5 separate regions of the Homo sapiens genome follow, and all the other regions are linked to region 1. The links are contacts of gene promoters, found by promoter capture Hi-C in blood cells and fetal thymus (Javierre and others, 2016). All regions are on one chromosome and are shown on one strand. The core of a region is centred on a gene start or on the middle of the fragment in contact, and the rest is flanking DNA. Distances in the headings are between cores, read along the strand shown.

Region 1 (3,758 bases), core at 955-3,454:
AACCATTCCCATACCCAGCATCACCCTGGTTCCAATCCCTGGCCACAGTCTCAGCTGGAACTCAGGCACCATCAGTTTCAGGAGCCTCCCCCAGTGCTTCACTTGCCAAGCAGGTCCTCCTCCCACTTTGGTACAGGGCCAGAAGTCTGACTTCTCTCCTCTTCAAATGCCACCTCCCTTGCTCCCCAACCATCCTCCCAGTCCCTGCTTGCTCACCTGCCCTCTTTCCTGGGGAAAAAAGGCCCCAATTCTCATATCTACATTGTCCCTGACTCAGGGGCACAGAGCCCAGCCTGGCAGCTGGGGTAGGAGGGGCTGGGGAGCAGGGAGAAGAGTAGGCACACCCTGGTGCTGCTGCTGTGGCCCAGTTCTGCTCCTACCACTTGGTGCAGAATTTGAGTTTGATGGTGGTGGAGCAGGGAGGATGGAGGCGAACATCTGGGAGATTAGCATTTCCTGCCCAGCTCTGCGGCTGCTGATCCTGCTCAGCCCTGAGCAAGGGAGGAGAACAGAGGAGCCTTTGAATGGCTCCCAGCAAGCAGACTGGGGAGGGTTTGCTGCATTGGGCAGCGGGCACACGCTGGGGGCAGGGAGACCGGGGCAGCTCTTCTGTGGAAGATTTCTTCTCTCTGGGCCACTGATTCCCTCCTCGGAGCTGTGCTCAATGATGTGGAGAGTATGAGCTTTCTAGAGACAGAAAGAAGCTACTTACAGAACAGACCCACCCCCCTCTTTCACCAGATTACCCCATCTCCCATCTAGAGCCCTGCCCCTGGGCTCCTGGGGCTGAGGGATAGAGCAGAGCCCAGGTCAGAAAAGGAGTCCAGTTAAGCAGGGCTGCTCTGGGAGAGATCTTGGACAGACTTTGCTTGCCCTCTTAGCTAACCAGAGATTCCACTTTTACCCTGAAGAGCATCCCACCGAGAGAGGCCAGAGCTGAGAAGAGAAGGAAGTAGAAGAAAGAGGAAAGGCACAGAAGAGTGGTAGGAACAGGAAAATGGGGAAGGACAGAGATGGGGAGTCAGAGGCTATGGCAAAAAGAGGCCCAACAACTGGTCATCCCATAACAAGAGCCTTTCCTCACCCAGCACTAGGCCTGGCTAGGGATAACCTTCCTCATTCTTTTGACCTAGAACACTCTGCCTGGGCCTGCAGGCGAAGAAGGCAGGAGGTCCTGTTGAACTGGGACACTTGGTAGCCTGGGTTACCAAACCGCAAGCGCAGGAGAGGGAGTTCCCAAGCTACTCAGAGACCTCTAGATGGCGCCAGAGAGCCAGAGCTGAATGGGAGAAACCGAGTATTGGAGTGTGTGAGACACTGCGTGTGACACCGTGTGTGATTTGGTGTGAGTGTGATAGGGAGCGTGTGGCACTGCGAGGGCGTGTGACACAGGCCGTGACACTGCGCGGCCTCGCGGGGCAGGGACCCGGTGACTGTATAATGTAAGTCACTGGCAAATACGTGTGGCCGCAGCACTACGCCGTGCAGAGGGCAGGTGATCAGGGGACCCTCGAATAGCCTAAGCTCAGGAGCAGCACTTCGTCTTCACGCTTGTGTATCTTCCCCATCCTCACTCTAGAGCCCCCGGGTCCCATTAGCCTCCTCCTCCCACGGTCCCCTCCATAGCCCCACCCCCACGGCTTGCTGCGGCCACCGAGGCTGACCGCTCTGCGGCTTCGGCCGGAGGGGGAGGGGTGGACTTTCCCCGAGCGCAGCGGGAAGGGAGGGCCACACAGGGCGATCGGGGATCTGGGCGGGAAGAGGGTGGATATGGAGGAGCAGGTGCCCAGGGAAGAAGGCGCTGTGGGAGACACTTCCCTTGCCTCGACTTCCCAGGGGGCAGACAGAGCTGGGGACAGGTGTTTGAGTAGGGTAAGGAGGGGAATCCAGGAGCGGTCCTAGATGGAGGCTTGGGTGGGATAAGTGTAAGGTGAAGCTCAGAGGAGGGCACGGCCTGTGTACTGGGCCTCGGGCAGTGAAGAGATGGCAGAGGGAGGGGTCCAGGCTTTGGGGAGCGGTGCTCGGGGTCCCCTCCCAGCCGGACCGGAGCGGTCCCGAGCTCCACCTCCCGGCCGGAGGGGGGGCGGGGAGGCGGGCGGGCCGGGAGGGAGGGGGGAGGGAGGGGGCGGGCCGGGCTGTGCGCTCCGCTCTCTGCTGGCTCCGCCGCCGCCGCCGCCGCCGCCGCCGCCGCCGCCGCCGCCTCACACACTCGGGGAGCGGGAGCGCGGCGCGGACGCAAAGCCGCCGGGCTGCTGCGCCCAGAGCCAGCCGGAGCCGGAGCCGGAGCCCGAACTGCAGCTCCAGCCCCAGCCGTGCGGAGCCGCAGCCCAGGCCGGGGCCGGCGGCGGCTCATGGACAGCGGGGCGGGCGGCCGGCGCTGCCCGGAGGCGGGTAAGGATCCGGCGGCGGTGGAGGCAGCAGCGGCTTGGGGCCCGAAGCGGTCATGGCCGGCGGGAGCTGAGGGAGGGGCGCTCGGCGGAGCGAGGCCGCGGGGGCCCAACACGAGCTCGGCGCGAGGGGGCTGAGGTGGGGGCTGCTGGGAGCCCATAGCAGGGGATGCGGCTGAGGGATTCCGTCCTCCCAGGTCCGCGGCGAGAAGCCGAGGGAGGGGAGGGGGTGCTGAGCAGAACCCTAGTCCCCGCGTCCCAAACCTGGGCGCGCTCGGAGAGACGGGGATAAGGAGACTCCAGGAGCGCGCGGCGTGGAGGATGGGTTTGGGGAAGCGCGCGGCCCCCAGTTTGGTGGGGGTCTCCCGGAGGACGGAGCAAGCAAGGACCGTTGTCCACAACACATACATACACACTTGTTGGGCAACTACCTCGGCTCACTCAGCCGCTTCCAGCTTCTCGCGGGCACCCAGAGGGCCAGACCGTGGACATATATACACACATACATACATCCCTGCATATGTGCACACAGACATACCTCCCGCACACCAGCGCCCACTGGGGCACCGTCGCCAGCTCAGAATCCGCTTCAGTGTCTGCACGATCAGCAGCACCGACACACAACCCGTGGCTTTACAGAGCAATAACACAACCGGGTGTGACACCCCGCGACGTGGACACACAAACACAATCTCGTGCCCTCATGTACGAGTGTCACAGCCACAGTTCACTAGATGAACCCTCAAAACCTAGCCACCCCCCACATTCCTTTAAGGAACACACCCTAGCATATATCATCTTACCCACTTCTTGGCCAGAACATAGGTACACAGCACAGGTCTCCTTGCACCCCTCTACTGCACCCACACAAACACACAACCCAGTATCTCAGCACACGCTTGATGGCACACACTCTAACACAGGAATTGGCACCTACAGCAGCGCCTCACGGTCACAAACACAGAATCCACTGCTTCACCCATCTTAACACTGGGTGTCACACACACCTTAAACCAACAGTGTCACATTACATTACACCCTGCAGCGCATACACACAAACACACACACTCCGTTCCTCTCTCTCGGAGTCCAGATTCAGGCAGGAGAAGCCGCCGGGGTCGTTCGGCGAGCCCCAAGCGCCCCGCCACGTTAATCGCGACATTATTATTGTAAATATCGGCACAGCGGGAAGGCTGGGCCGGCCTGCCGGCTTCCCAGTCGGCGCCTCCCCAACCCCCACTCCCGGGCCGAACCGGCTGGTGTTCCGGGAACAAGCTGGACCTGGCTGGCCAAGCCATCCCGCCTCCCCGGAGCTCTGGGGCCCCAGGTTCCTTTGTAGAGGGTGCTAGCCTGGGACGGTGATTGCGACCC
Region 2 (3,484 bases), core at 524-3,023, 180 kb after region 1:
AGCCAGCAAAGAGGGCTGAGCGCATGGTTGCTGGGGAGCATTAACAGTAACACGTTGTGTATTTGTCATCAGAATGGAGCCCCCGGGCACAAGGGTAGTGCCCATGGCTGCTCAATGCTGTATTTGTCATGTGGCCACTGACACAATCAATTGACCCCCTTACACACCGGTGTTTTTTAGCCATTGTATAAATATTTCACCCCTCCCCAGCTGACACATAATCTCTTCTTTGCTGCCTCTGACAAATGAACATTTCTCTGTAGACTCTTAAATGAGTATGTGTCACAGCTATGTCACTGATTAATTTTTTTTACCACTATGAACAACGATGCATAGAAATGCAACTTATATTCATTTCCCGGCTTGAGCCCAGCTGTCTAAAAAATTCCACCAGCAGTTACGACTGACAGACAGCTATCCCAGCGCTTGGGCGTGCTGACATGTGGTTGTGTGAGTGCCAGCTTGTTAATTACCGGCTCTCTCTTCCGGCCTGGCTGCCGAGTAACCAGCCACAAGGACCTTAATCACTGCTGGGGCCTGGAAGGGCCTGCTTCAGAAGGCTCCAGGGGCCAAATCTCAATCAGGCCTAACCACACACAGTTTTTTCCTTCAAGCATTGGCCACCTTTTCTCCTGGGCCCTGGTTTGGGAATGTGCCTGTAGTCACCTCAGTAACACTCACTGCACCCTTAAACCCTTCACCCACCAATCTGTGAGGACAGGGACTCAGTCTTGTTTGCTTGGCACAGGGTGAATGCTCTAGAAATATTCACTGAAATGAAATCAGCTAAGGGGCAATTATTGAACAATATATCAGCCACTTGACATATATTACTCCTTTCATAGTAGGAGCCCCTACTATGCACTGGATGCTTAGCCAATGAGCAAGACAGGTAGACCTTTAGACCTGGGCCCAGAGGAAAAGGTGGCCATCAGTTGGAGAAAAAAATTGAGTGTGTGGTTAGACTTGGGTGGGAGCCGGACCCTGGAGCCGTCTGAGGCAGGTCCTTCCTGGCCCTGTCCGTGATTTAGGTCCTATGGGTGGTTAGTTGGCAGCCAGGCTGCAATGAAGTTTAGGTTCTGGTGGTGAAGGACTAGAGGTTCTAGGGATAGAACTTCTATTTGTAGAGGTGCTATTTGTACCCTGTTTGCAGCTGAGGAAACTGGAGGACAGTTCTCGCCTTTGGCCACATAGCTCATCAGCGGTGGCATTGAAATAAGAGCCTGTGCCTTCTGACTCCAAAGCCTGCACCACTAACCACTCTTGGCCAACCACACTGAGACCCCACTGTCCTTTCCCTCAGCTGCCTCAGTTTCTCCTACACTATAGCTCTCCTTCCCTCCTTCTCCTTCACACTTTCTTCTTCCTGGCAGGCTCTCGAGTCACCTTGGGCTTCAGAGCCGATTCAGCATCCCTGCCCCAGACCGACCCCATCCATCTGCTGCTCCCCCCATCCCCATGCCCCCCACTGACACAGAACCGAGCCTTCAGCAGGTGTCTAGGCTGCCCCTAGCCCGCCCCCAACCTCCATGCACCTGTGTCCTTTCCCTGATGTCATATAACCACTGGCTAGGAGCCAAGAGCATAACACCTGGGGACACTTTTGGTGATTAACTAGCTCCACCATTGCCCACAAGGCTCTCAAGAGACTGAGCGGAGAAATACAGACCCCTCCCCCTCTAAGGCCCAAGCAGACTTGGGCAGCTCTGGAGGCAGGGGCTGCACATCCAAGGAACTGATCCTCCCCATTGCCACATCCATGGAGCCCACAGGAATCAAAACTGTGGATGTATATGGCAAGGTAGAGAGTGTGGAATGGGAGATGGTCTGAATCCCAGTTTCTCTATTTACCGACTATACATCCTAGGGCAAGTTACTTCATTTCTTCTGGGGTTGTACCTTGAAGATGCTAATACCTATTTCACAGAGCTGTTGGGAGGTTGACGAGAGCTCACGTGGGACAGCACCCACCATGGTGCCTACCATATAACAGGTGCACAGTAAACCACAGCATCTTTCTTTCCCTTTTGGCAAGGTTGTGATTCCGACCTATCTTGATTAATCATCTAATCAGAGAAGAAAAGCTGGACAACACACCTACCTATTGATACCTTAGCCCATACTGACCCAGGAGACCCCAGGCACCAAAAGCACTGCCTCTCTTCTTCCCTCCAGGCCTGAGTGGTGTGGAAGGAGAGGCAACTCCTAGGAAGGACGTGAAACTGCTGTGGGTGGGGCTGCCCTTCAATCAGCATCATCCAAAATCATGGCCACTTACAAACATTCAGTCCATGCAGCACTGAACAGAGCACATGTTTATGTGCATTATCTCATTGAAAAGTCACAAAACTCTTTGAGTTAGGTATGACTGGTTTCATTCTACTGACAAAGAAATTGAGGCCTAAAGAGGTTAAGAGAACTGCAAAAAGTCACACAGAGGCAGAGCCAGGACTTCAACCCGGGGTTCACCTTATTCTCAAGATAGTGCTCTTAACTACCGTTGTATGCCACATCCCTCACACCCTCTTCCTCACTATGTCCATCAAGCTCCCAGGGCATTCTGCAGCGAGCGGCTGCAGCAGGCATCACCTTCTCTATGACGTCATTGAGAGCCTGCTCTATCACCTCAGTGGGCCTGCCCCGTCCCACCTACTAGGCCTCAGTGGAGCTAGGGGCAGGGTCAGAGGAAGAAAAAGCTCAGATGACACAGAGCTAGGCTGGGACTGGCACAATAGCAACCCTGGGGAAGGGGCTGATGCAAGAAAGGGGTCCACACAACTGGCCCTTCAGCTGGCTGGTTAGCTGTGCCATCCGCATACATTTCCTTGTTCGAAATGGAGCACTGAGCCCCGGAAATCAGGACAAAAGCACCACCCACAGCTCTGGTCTCGATGACTCAGATTCCACCTCCCACAGCCTCCTCCTGTGTGTGTTTCTGAATGCGTGTGTACCCGCGCGTGCGCCCCTCCAGCGCGTGAGGCTGTCAGCTGTGTGTGTGTGTGTGTGTGCGCGCGCATGTACAGAGATGAGCACACATGTGCACATGGCTGAGCTGGGTCCACCTGCATATCTCTGTCTCCAAGCCCGAGTTCTCAGAATACGATGACCCACAGGGTCAGTGATCATCATAACATTGATAGCCACATGCTTCCCATGCTCGGGCTGTGTGCCAAGCACTTTACACGCAGTGCAGCATAGAGTCTTTACCGCAGCCTTATTAGGTGCCTACTATCATTCCCCTTCTGCTAACGATGAAACTGAGACTCAGAGAAGTTAACCTGCTTTCCCAAGGTCACACAGCTAGAAAATGGTGAAATTATCAGATGTCAAAGTCGGTGCCCAATAAGATGTGCTTCTCGCCTTGCCCCCTTTAGGGGGTTTGGAGAGAAGTCCCAAGGGTCCTTTGTAACCAGAAGCCAACCAGGGTCGCTGAAGGAAAGGGGGCCAGAGCCTTGGAGGAAGGAAAGGGGGGCGAATAGCAGAT
Region 3 (3,852 bases), core at 805-3,304, 210 kb after region 1:
CCTCACAGGTCAGCACCGGGCCCTGGGTTCTGGGATCTCCAAGGTGCAGAGCCTGAAGCTGGACACGAGTGTCTGGAGTAATGAGATAGTACAGGTGAGCGGGCGAAGAGGGAGAAGGTGGGAGGCGTAGAAGGGAGCGTCCAGAAGCAGGCCTTGGGCCAGCCTGGGGACAGGAATGGAACATCTGAGGACTCTTGAGTTCCTGTCACCTGCCTTTGTCCCTTGTCATCCCACAGTTATTCATTGTCCTGGGAAATGATCGTGCCAACCGCTTCTGGGCAGGGACCCTACCCCCAGGTGAGGGACTACATCCAGATGCGACCCCTGGCCCCCGGGGAGAGTTCATCTCCCGAAAGTACCGTCTGGGTCTCTTCCGGAAGCCCCACCCTCAGTACCCAGATCATAGCCAGCTTCTCCAGGTAGGAGGGACAGAGCAGGGGTGATCTGGGGTGGGGGGGTCAGGAAACACTCTCTGGAGTTGGAATGCCTAGACTTGGGTGGTGGGGACTGTTTTTAGTGATGATACGACTGTCCCCAGTGCTCTCAGTTTGGGATTTGGGGCTGACAGAGGCCCTTCCCTCCCTGCAGGCACTGTGTGCAGCTGTGGCAAGACCCAACCTGCTGAAGAACATGACCCAGCTCCTCTGTGTTGAGGCCTTTGAAGGCGAGGAGCCCTGGTTCCCCCCAGCCCCTGATGGCAGCTGCCCTGGCCTCTTGCCCTCAGGTCATTCCCCCAAGTGCCTCCTCTCTCCCCTACAGGAATTCTCAGACCCAACCTATGATTCAGTTCTTCCAAGGGGCCCCAATTAGCTGATCACAATGGCCCAGCCTGGGCAGTTTCCCAAACCCTCAGATCCTCCAGGGCCTATCTCCTGATGTCATGTGATAGCTGATGACGGTCATGGCTGGGGAGGGTCTGGGTGTTCCAGGTGCTAGTGCTGGTCCACCCCTGACAGGGCCGACCCATAGGTCAGGACTAGTCTCCCTGGAGACAGTGTGATCTCTCAAAGAAGTGATCAGCTTAGTGACACTCATCTCCATTGGTCAGGCCAGGGGGCTGAGACCCTTACAGGATGGTACATGCCCTGAGGTGCTCACCCAGAGCTAAGAGCCTGGTTGGCTGGCTGGTAGGGAGAGGCAGTGGGCAGGGGCTGGGCCAGAGGCCTCCCTGTCTCATTACCCCCTGCCTCTCTCTTCTGCAATCTGGGTAGTGAGGGATCCAGCTCCATTGGGCTCTACTTGGCTGTGCTGGCAGTGGAGTCAGGTCCCACTGTCTTTCTCCATTTCATCCCTTCCCCAGAGGGGGTCAGGTTATCCCGTTGCACTTGGTTGACCTGACTACTTCCCCTTCCCCTTGCAGACCCCTCCCCTGGTGTGTACAATGAGGTGGTGGTGCGTGCTACTTACAGCGGCTTCCTGTACTGCAGTCCCGTCAGCAACAAAGCTGGACCCTCACCCCCTCGCAGGGGCCGGGATGGTGAGGGGGAGCCAAGGGATGGGAGGATACAGGGACAGAAAGTGGATGGGTGTGAGGGTACTGCAGAGGGACAAAGAGGAGAGGGCTGGGATGGGAAAGTGGGGCCATGCCTGGGAATGGGCTGGGGTCCTGGGGGTGAGAGAGGGACCATGCCAAGTGGCAGCATTGGGTGATAGTTAAGAGCATCTGTTCTGAAGTCAGACTGTCTGGGTCAAATCCCAGCTCTGCTACTTCCTACCTATGTGTCTTGGGCAAGCTACTGAAACTGAGCCTCAGTTTCCCCATCTGCAAAACAGGACTGAGTATAACACCTCATAGGGTTATTGTGAAGATTACATGGGATCATATATGGGCAAAGGGCTTGGCACAGAATAAATATCTGGTAAACTGGAACTATGACAGTGGGGGCAGAGGTCTGCTGCTCCCTGACTATCTCCCTCTGCCTTAGCTCCCCCGCGCCTTTGGTGTGTGCTGGGAGCAGCTCTGGAAATGTTTGCATCGGAAAACAGCCCTGAACCCCTCAGCCTCATACAGCCCCAGGATATTGTATGTCTGGGTGTGAGCCCCCCACCCACTGACCCAGGTGACAGGTAATAGCCCTTCTGTGACCACTGAGCTTCCCCCTTTTCTCTTCCCAACCTCCAGCCTGACAGCCCTCTCATTGGTCCCATCCTCCTCCCTGACCTCATCTTCTCTCCAGGTTCCCCTTTTCCTTTGAGCTCATCCTCGCTGGGGGGAGGATCCAGCATTTTGGCACAGATGGAGCTGACAGTCTGGAGGCCTGGACTAGTGCTGTGGGCAAGGTGAGACAGGAGAGCGCCCTCTGCAGCATCTCATGCTTTCCTTGTCCCCACGTGCTCCCATCTTCTCCTCTCTTATTCCTACAGCCACTTCTTCCACTAACAGCTAAGGGTGACTGAGCACATATTCTGTGCCAGGCCCTGTGTTAAGCACTGCCCACTCGATATCTCATTTAATTTTCACAACCACTCTCTGAGGTGAGGTTTTAAGTATAAGGAAACTAAGTTTTAGAGTTTACGAATTCACTTGGTCAAGGTCACAGAGCTAGGAGGCAGCAGAGCACAGGACTAAAATTCAGGCCTCTGTCTGCAAAGCTCACGGCCCAAACCTCACTGTGCCAATGCCTCCTCCCACGAAGAAGCTGGCTCTGATTCCCACTACCCACCCTCTGCTCCAGTTTTCCAGCAGGCCCGGAGGCAAAGCTACCTTCATATTTCCCAGCTTCTCCATTCTTAGATAAGCCAGTATCTCTCTCCTGTATGCCATTCCCAAAACTGAAAATTCAGGCCCTGGAGTCAGACATCCTGGGATTTGAGTCACAACTCTCAGCCTTGTGAGCTTTTCCACATCTGTAGGGTGGGCGTAAAAGACTCACCCCCTAGGGTTGAGGATTAAATGACATGTGAGGCCCACACACAGCAAGCCCTCAGTATGTGGGCGTTGAAATAATAATGATGGTAGTGATGATGACGATGATGACGACAGTCTCTCCCATCCTAAGACAGCTTTTCCCTAAGATCTGTTCCATCTTCAACTTTTCACCCTGGTGCCTTCCTTTCCCTCCTGACAATGCGTCAGAAAGTCGTGTGCAGCCTGCAGTTCCCCTTTGACCCCTTGCAGCTACCCTCCTCTGCCCATGCCCTCCTGAACTGCTACCTGGCAGGTCACCAGTGCCTTCCCATTTCCAAAGGCCAAGGCTGCCTCCCAGCCTCACCAGGTCATCTCTGCAGCATCCGGCACTCCTGTATGGGAAATGCTCCACTGCTCTGGCTTTTGACCCCCTTCTCCCAGGTCTCCTACAACTCCTCACACTAACACATTGTCTCCATATCTTTTCAGGGCTCTGTCGTGGCCCTCCCAACCAGGTTTAAGTCTCCTCTCATTATTATCTACACTTTCCAAAAAGCTATCCCATCCTTTAAGGCAGTGCTACCCGGAGGGTGCTGTGAAGACTGTCACACCATACTAGCCCCTGGACTATGTGTTATGGTCCATGACAGGATAAGCACAGAACTTGAGAGTAAGCATTTAGAATATTTTATAGCAATTTGACATAGTAATTTTATGTGTTGAATCTAATTATAAAAAAAGGGCTTGGGCCAGGGGTGGTGGCTCACACTTGCAATTCCCAGCACTTAGGGAGGCTGAGGCGGGAGGATTGCTTGAGCCCAGGAGTTTGAGAGCAACCTGGGACCCTGTCTCTACAAAAAATAAGAATTAGCCAGGCATGATGGTGCTCACCTATAGTCCCAGCTACTGGGGAGGCTGAGGTGGAAGGATTGCTTGAGCCTCGGAGGTTTGAGCCTACAGTGAGCTGTGATCATGCCACTGCACTCCAGCCTAAGTGAGGCCCT
Region 4 (3,992 bases), core at 121-2,620, 230 kb after region 1:
GAACGCTGGAAGGAGGAGATTCTGGAGAAAGAAAGCAGGCATGAAGAACTCTGCATTGGAAGGGACTTGGTCTACTGAGGGAACAGCAAAGAGGCTGGAGCACAGTGAGCAGACAGTGGGAGGAGAGTACAGGCTGAAGTAAGAAAGACCAGCAGGGTCTTCCATGCGTAGCCTTGAAGGCCATGGATTCTATTTGGATTTTATTCTGAAGCAAGTGCATTTTAAGCAAGTAAATTATGAGATCTTATTTCCCTTTAAAAAAGAAAAAAAAGGTTGATCACTCTGAGTGCTGTGTGAACAGTGGGTTGGGGTGAGGGCAGTGTGGAAGCAAGGAGATCAGATATTAGACCAGAAGTCTAATAATGGGGGCTTGGACTAGGATGGTGGTCTTGGAAATTGAGGGAAGTGGATCAAGAGGTTTTTGTTTGTTTATTGTTGTTTGAAATAGAACCTGTAGGACTTACTGATGGATAGAATGTAGGGGTAGGAGAAGGCACATTGACTCTGGGTTTCTGACTTAACTGACTGGAGGAAATGCGGTGCCATTTAAAACGTTACGGGGGGAGGATCAGGTTGAAGGAGGTTTAAAAGCTTTAAAAGTTGAGGTTCCTATTAGATATACTAGCAGAGGTGTCAGTGGGGAGTTGGAATGTGAATCTGGAGTTTTGAGACATGTCAGGGGTACTGGGACAGGTGCCTGAGCCAAAGAAGCTTAGGTGAGGAGGATGAGGAATTGGGGAGAGGCTCCTCAGGAAGCAGTGCTAGGGCTGGAAGATCCTAAAGGTGGCAGGGGCTTCCTGCGCATCTCCCAGCTCTCGCCGACTCACTGGTATCGTTTAGTTTTCAGTGGGGCCAAGTCTTTTTCCCTTTGGGCCTGGTTCCTTCCTGGATCCAGGCATCTTTCTCACCCCGCTCACGCTGGCTTTTCCAGTTAAGCGGGAATTAGGAAAAGGTCTGGGACCAGCCCTCTCTTCGTCAGATGCATCTTTGCTCAGGTGCCCAGTGACTCAGTTTCCCTGGTCACACACTGAATTCCTCTCCATTCCTCATCATTAGCTCGGGGACTGGGGATCTACATATGCAAATGAATAATTATCAATAATTACAGGCTGAATCAGTGGTTACACTACAAATAGAACTTAGGCGTCTTGACTCAGATGCCTGGGGTTCTTCCCACCGCCCAGCGGACGCTGCGTCCGCCCCGCCCGCCCCGCCACCCGGACCCTGCCGGCGTATTCGCAGCAGTAACAGGTTTAGTTTCTCGGTGGCCCCCTCTCGCTTCCGCGCCCTGCGACGTCGCCGGACAAGTCGTGGGCGGGCAGAGGGCGGGGCCTGACCTGGCCTGGGGCGGGGCTCCATAGTGGGCGGGGCTTCCTCCAGTTCCGGAGTCCAGTGGCTGACCGCCTTGCTGGAGCGGAGATGCAGCCGCCGCCCCGAAAAGTGAGCTTGGCCCTGAATGGGGACTCCTGGCGGGCTGGGGGAACGGAGGGAGCTAAGGGGGCATCCGACTTGTGGTAGGAGACGGGAAGTCGGAAGGGGTCAGACCCCAAACCAGAAGTAACAGAGGAAAGAGCTCAGCACCCCCCCGGCCCCGCCCCCTCACCGCTCCCTGCGCGGAGTGTTTTTTAGGTCCTTGCGCTGGGGTCTTCATCCTCTCTTTGCCCCCACAGGTGAAGCCGGCCCAGGAGGTGAAGCTTCGCTTCCTGGAACAGCTGAGCATCCTTCAGACCTGGCAGCAGAGGGAGGCGGATCTGCTGGAGGACATCAGGTAGCTCCCCCAACCCCCTTCATTTACACTCACCTTCGTCGTTGTGCGCCACTTCTCCCCAATATACATGTGCTGGGGTGGAGGAACAGGGGCCAAGAGCTCCCCAGCCGACCCATCCACAGCCCTCACCCTAGGCCTGGCCTCTCCAGATACTGGATAGGAATGCTCCCCCACCTAACCCCTCCCAACCCCCTCCCACCCACATAAACACACAGGAACCCTCCCTCAAAGCCCTTGACTCCACACCACTGCCCCCAACCCCACAATCAACCTTAGGGCAGAATCCCTCTCCCTCTTCCAGACCTGTTGGAAGGCTGGCAGACATCGTACCCAGGCCCCCATCAGTCTTCACCTCTAAGCCTACAGATGAACCTCTGGGGTGGGGAGGATCCTGCTGGGGCCCGGGGCAGTAAGGTGAGGGTTTCCTGTGTTGCAGCTGCCCGAGGTGATCTCAAGGACTCCCATCAGTCCCATTCCCTCTGGGTGTAGTTACACTCTAGGAACCTGGCTCCCCCCAACCGCTCCCTCCTGCCCAGAGTAGAGGACTGAGGATGGGAGAACAGGACCAAACATAACCTTATCCCCCACCTCACCCCCGACCTGCAATCTCCGCAGATCCTACAGCAAGCAGAGGGCAGCCATTGAACGGGAGTATGGGCAGGTATGGGACTTTTCTCTGGACCTTACCTCTTGTTCCAGCCTCTCTTATATCACCAGTAATGTCTGTCCATACCTATCCCTATTGTGGTCAAGAGCAGATGCCTAGAGTCAAGCAGACTGGTGTCAGATCCCTGCTGTGTAATTATAGCCATGTGACCTTGGACAAGTTACTTAACCTTTCTTGACCTCAGTTTCTTTCTCTGTGAAATGGGAATAATAATAATACCTTACCTTCATGTAGGGTTGTTGTAAGGATTAAACAAATTAATGACTATAAGGCATTTAGCAAAGCAAGTGGCACATAATGTACCCAAAGAATGGTATGATTATACTCTGATGTCATATTCTGCCAGTTGGGGTGGGTCTTTGAAAGGGAACTTGGTTCTGTGATGGCTTTTTCACCAGGCACTCCAGAAACTGGCTGGCCCATTCCTGAAGAGGGAAGGGCACCGGAGCGGTGAGATGGACAGCAGGTGGGCCCTATGGAGGGGGAGGGCCACAGAGGCCAAAAAGTGATGGGGAGCTCAGCCCCAGGAACCTGTGGGGATGAAGGCCTAGCAAGTGGGGAAGGCACGTGAGCTGTAGGTAGAGCTGACACAGCAGCAGCAGAGGAGCTGACCCAGCAAGGACACTGTGGGTGGGGTGGAGGGCAGGAGTGAGGCTTGTGGCTGAGCTAATGGGCTGATCGATTGATGGGCTCCCAGACAAGGGAGGATGGGAAAGCACTCTGTCTCCCATGGTGTTGGTCAGGGGGCAGGGGGTGGGGGTGGTCTCATGAAGCTGTGGAGTGCTCTCCTCCTCAACACAGACCTTCTCTGGGGAGGGGCAGGACAGTGTTCGGTGCCTGGCGCTGCCTGCTGGATGCCACCGTGGCTGGGGGCCAAACCCGACTCCAGGCGTCTGACCGATACCGTGACCTAGCAGGGGGTACAGGGCGGAGCGCCAAGGAGCAGGTGCTTAGGAAGGTATGGCTCAGAGGTTGGGGTGAAGGAAGAGCTGGCTTGGGACCAAAGGTGGTCTAGGTAAGGACTTTGTGTATGCATCCCAATAGGGAACAGAGAACCTCCAGAGGGCGCAGGCTGAGGTGCTGCAGTCTGTCCGGGAGCTGAGCCGAAGTCGGAAGCTGTATGGGCAGCGGGAACGTGTGTGGGCCTTGGCACAGGAGAAGGCGGCTGATGTCCAGGCCAGGTGGGGTCATGGAGAGTGAGGAAGCCCAAGGTTGGGGAACAGGGAGGTGGGGCTGTCTAGGGGTGGAGCCAAGTCACCAAAGCTGGGCCTGACTCTGATCTCATATTCTCCCACTTGGGGTGGGCCTGACTCCTTTCTCTCATCTGCACAGGCTAAACCGAAGTGACCATGGGATCTTCCACTCTCGGACCAGTCTCCAGAAACTGAGCACCAAGGTTCGAGGGATGAGGGCATGAGTGGGGGCAGGGAAGAGGGAGGCAGAGTAGTCTAGTGGTTTGGAACATAGGTGCATATGTATGAAAGACTGGGTTGAATCCAGGCTCTCCTACTTCCTGGGTGGGTAACCTTGGTTAATTTACTTGATCTCTGTGAGCCT
Region 5 (3,641 bases), core at 544-3,043, 140 kb after region 1:
TGCCCCCTTGGGGTCTAGTGAAGCTTTTCTGAAGTCATTCATTCATCAAACATTTATTGAGCACTTATTAAGCACCAGGCCCTGGGAATACAATGGTGAACCAAAGAGACACAGTTTGTACCCTGAAGGAGCTCATGTTCTAGTGGGCAAAACAGATAATGAACAAGTGAACAGATAAATAACTTCGGATGCTGTTAAGTACTGTGAAGAAAATAAATTGGGAAGAAGGGGTAGAGAGGGAAGGAGGGAGGCTGCTATTGCCTGGACAGTCAGGGAAGGCCTTCTGAGAGGTGGAGTTTGACCTGAAGAATGAGAATAAGCCATTCTATAAAGATTTGGAGGAAGAGGTTTCCAAGCAGGCAGATCAGCAAGTGCAAGAGCTTTAAGAAGAGAATGAGCACATGTGCTAGAGGAACATAAAAAGGCCTGGTGCTGAGGCAGAGTGAGAAATGAGGTGGAGGAAAGGGACATGGTCTTGCTGGCCGTGGAAAGGAAGAGAATTTCTTGCTAAAAGCACTGGGAAGCCATGAGAGTGATTTGGGCAGAGGATGGCACTATCTGATTTACATTTTAATTTTGCTCAGATAATAAAAATCTTGGTCTAGTTCTGGCTTCACAAGTTACTCAATGTGAGATCTTGAGCCAGTTGCTGCATTTCATTAAACCTCAGGTTCTTTAAGAACTTCTTGGGGTGTCAGAAGAACATGAGTTAACTTGCATGTCTAGCTCAGAGCCCAGCATTGATAGCTGCACAATCAATGCACCACTTTGTCTCTCTTCCCTCTGCCTTTCTTCTCAGCCCCAGCCTCTCCCCCGCTGTCACACACTAAGTAAACCCCAGGGCCTAGCTGGGATCTCAGAGTGGAAGGAAGGGGTCTCATCCACAGGCATCAGGACCAGCTGAGGTAGGCCCAGTGTTCCCCTCACCAGTGCCCGACCATTTGAGGAACCACTCCTCAGGGTCGCAGGAGATCAGACCCTGCAGGTACACCAAGGGGCTGCATGCTGCCAGGGAAGTGGCCAGGATGTCTGGGCCAATTTGCATGCAGACACTATGCATTTGCCTGTATTTCCATGCCATTTGCTACACCAAAATGGCAGGCCCAGCATGCAGGGGAAAGGTTATCACTGCTACCTGAGGTCATGCTCCTTTACACTTACCTGCATTCCTTCCCTGTACTTTGCATGCAACCTTTGATCCCAGAAGTTGCCTGGGGGAGAACTAGGAGGAAAGGGAAGTTGGAGGGAGCCAATAAGGAAGGCAGTTTGGAGACTAAGCCAGGGCTGCGAGCAGACAGGGTGAACCTCACTTCTCCCAGGACCTGGGCCCACACTGCTGGCTCCAGAGTGAGTAAAAGGTGGCTGCCTGAGATAGAATCCTCCCAGCAGCTGCCTAGGTAGCCACATATCCACTTGACTGGCCTCAGGGGACAAGGCACTTCTCCTGCCTCCCTCCTAGCACTGGGACCCACAGAAAGGATCTGATGAGGTTAATTAATTGCTTGTAAAAATTTCTTTGGAAGGAAAAGAGCCATCATGTCTGGGAGCCAGAGGATGGCAGCAGCAAAGTCCTACCAGTTAGGACAGGGGTGCAAAGGGCAGGGCTGTGATGGTGCCAGGAAAGGAAGGGAGTGGGACAGCAGAAGGAAGGGACATGGGACAAGTCTCAGAGAATAGCCTCAGGGAAGCCTCTGATCCTGGAATGTTTGGGGAGCCCACAGCCGGAGAGAGTTTGGTTGGGCAAGGGTGGTAAGGCTCAGGCTGTCTCGTCCCAGTGCCTGAGAGAAGAGGAAAGAGAAACACAACCCGAGCTGGAGAATCTTCCTCCCCTTCCTCACCAGGATGCTCTTCCTCTTCCTTCCCACTGGATGAGTCTGAAGCCAAGGGCTCCCACATCAAGCCTCCCCCCCACCACCGCCCACCCTGACCTCTGGAAGATCCTCTCTTTTCATTCTTTTGGGGCTCAGTATCCCCTCACTGAGTCTCCCATGTGAGAGACCCTCCTTTTTCACATCCAGTCTCTCAAAAATTCCTGTAGCCCTGACAAGGCCCTCAACTATATCCTGAACTTTATATGTAGGTTCACTGTAACTCAGCATCTCCATCATAGCCAGAGGCATTGAAATAGGGCAGGCTGGAAACAGGCAGAGAAACTGGTGCTGCGGGAACCCAGGGGTGCTGACCAAGGTCCTGAACAGCCTCAATTCCTGTTACACAGGAACTTCACAATGCTCCTTGTGCAACCTATGGTCCCATCCCTGCCCACACACCCATCCTGGCTCCACCTCCAAGGCTTCATCCTCAATGTGAATCATATAAGGGATGGGGATGATCAGGGAGCTGATCTCGATGAGCTCCTTCAGGTTACAAGCCAGCCCTCCCTACAGAGCTGCAGCCTCTGCCCCTCCCTTTTTGTCCTTAACACTGGCTCTGTCTGTTCTGCCAGCCTTGTCAAGGACAGCCCCTGCAATCTGACCACACAGCAGCTGGTAGGGCCTGGGGCTGCACTTGACATCCTGATCCAACCATATTCTCAGAGAGAAAACAGGTTGGGAGTTCCGCATGCTTGCACACACCTGCACATATCATGCACACGCTCACACTCTCAATGTCAGCCTAGACTAGAGAAGTGGTTCTTAGATTTCTTGGGTCATGGATTATCTGGCTGTAATCTCCTCAGAAAAAAAGATGCATATACCCAACCCTTTGCACATCCCATCAAGAGGGCCTGGGATAGGGGTGTCCTTCCTGATTCCTGCCCTCCACTGTAAAACTTGCCCAGGGAGTGGGACTCTACCAAGAAGATGTTCTCTGGGAAGATGCACTGAGTTTGGGCACTCCCCAGGAGTAGTGCCAGTGGGGCTGGGCTGAGGTGCAAGAGGAATCAGAACAATCTCCAAGGCCACCTCCAGCTGTCAAACACAAGGACTCAGTGGTTCTGTACCACACATGCCTCTTGCTAACCAATGCAGTCAAGGCATCATCCACTCTGCTTTGATCTTCTTGAATCAAGACAGATGAGCTCTGAGCTCCTGGTGTCTACCTGAGTCATTGCACAGTCTGACCAAGTTTTTGCCATTTACAGTGAGCCCCAACCACATAGATGAGGAAACAGGGCTCTGCCTGGCTTCAAATCTTCCTGTGACCAACCATAGACCAACTTCTTTGGGTTCAATGCACACACCTGTAGACTGTGCACATGCATGCACTGACATGCAAGGCACACATGCTCACAGGTCAGGACACACACACAAATCATGCAAGAGCATACAGAAACACATGAATCATAAAAACAGGCTGAAACATGCAAAACTCCGAAAAGCACATGCATGTATAAACTTCACATACATATAATCACAGTCATGCAAACCATATGGACACACATACATGCTCTAAAATGTAACCCCCCATTCCCACCTCCTAGGGAATATTCCAACCCCACTAAACTTTTCATTTCTCTCTGCCATGGCCTCTAACTCCCCCTTGCCTTTGTGTAATCTGTTCCTTATGATGGAATCATTCTTCCCTTCTTTTCCTCACATGGTGGATTCTTAGTAAGCTTCTATATGAGGTACCCGGGGTTGCCATAAAAATTACTACAGACTGGGTGGCTTTAAAACAGCAGAAATTTATTCTCTCAC

Evidence for each region. Contacts are between HindIII fragments. The CHiCAGO score rates a contact against its expected background, and 5 or more counts as called.
Region 2: a fragment that was not itself captured here is called in contact with the fragment with the promoter of PCDH1 in region 1 in 17 of 17 cell types (endothelial precursors, megakaryocytes, M2 macrophages and 14 more); the score reaches 33.4 in endothelial precursors.
Region 3: a fragment that was not itself captured here is called in contact with the fragment with the promoter of PCDH1 in region 1 in 17 of 17 cell types (M1 macrophages, M2 macrophages, endothelial precursors and 14 more); the score reaches 10.3 in M1 macrophages.
Region 4: the fragment with the promoter of FCHSD1 here is called in contact with the fragment with the promoter of PCDH1 in region 1 in 12 of 17 cell types (neutrophils, non-activated CD4 T cells, naive CD8 T cells and 9 more); the score reaches 8.4 in neutrophils.
Region 5: a contact is called between a fragment that was not itself captured here and the fragment with the promoter of PCDH1 in region 1, in 6 of 17 cell types (endothelial precursors, M1 macrophages, M2 macrophages and 3 more). The highest score is 10.2, in endothelial precursors.

Annotation. Positions count from the first base shown.
Region 1 is chr5:141,876,856-141,880,613 of GRCh38, reverse strand. PCDH1 (protocadherin 1) reads left to right here and starts at 2,204. Exons shown (of 5, transcript NM_032420.5): 1 at 2,204-2,391. The coding sequence starts at 2,352. RefSeq lists enhancers at 2,206-2,955, 3,222-3,758. The HindIII fragment of the contact is 20,024 bases long and covers 1-3,758 here.
Region 2 is chr5:141,692,777-141,696,260 of GRCh38, reverse strand. No RefSeq gene overlaps it. Among named protein-coding and RNA genes, the nearest start is that of ARAP3, 12 kb to the right of the region's middle. RefSeq lists enhancers at 2,908-3,441, 3,442-3,484. The HindIII fragment of the contact is 5,323 bases long and covers 1-3,484 here.
Region 3 is chr5:141,668,137-141,671,988 of GRCh38, reverse strand. ARAP3 (ArfGAP with RhoGAP domain, ankyrin repeat and PH domain 3) reads left to right here. Exons shown (of 33, transcript NM_022481.6): 11 at 9-94; 12 at 237-419; 13 at 589-724; 14 at 1,361-1,477; 15 at 1,926-2,067; 16 at 2,178-2,280. Among named protein-coding and RNA genes, the nearest start is that of ARAP3, 12 kb to the left of the region's middle. The HindIII fragment of the contact is 5,295 bases long and covers 1-3,852 here.
Region 4 is chr5:141,648,796-141,652,787 of GRCh38, reverse strand. It overlaps FCHSD1 (FCH and double SH3 domains 1), which reads left to right and starts at 1,370. Exons shown (of 20, transcript NM_033449.3): 1 at 1,370-1,440; 2 at 1,671-1,768; 3 at 2,384-2,429; 4 at 2,834-2,901; 5 at 3,252-3,393; 6 at 3,480-3,616; 7 at 3,768-3,831. The coding sequence starts at 1,420. RefSeq lists an enhancer at 2,770-3,348. The HindIII fragment of the contact is 983 bases long and covers 714-1,696 here.
Region 5 is chr5:141,733,572-141,737,212 of GRCh38, reverse strand. No RefSeq gene overlaps it. Among named protein-coding and RNA genes, the nearest start is that of ARAP3, 53 kb to the right of the region's middle. RefSeq lists silencers at 2,074-2,274, 2,037-2,331. The HindIII fragment of the contact is 3,536 bases long and covers 26-3,561 here.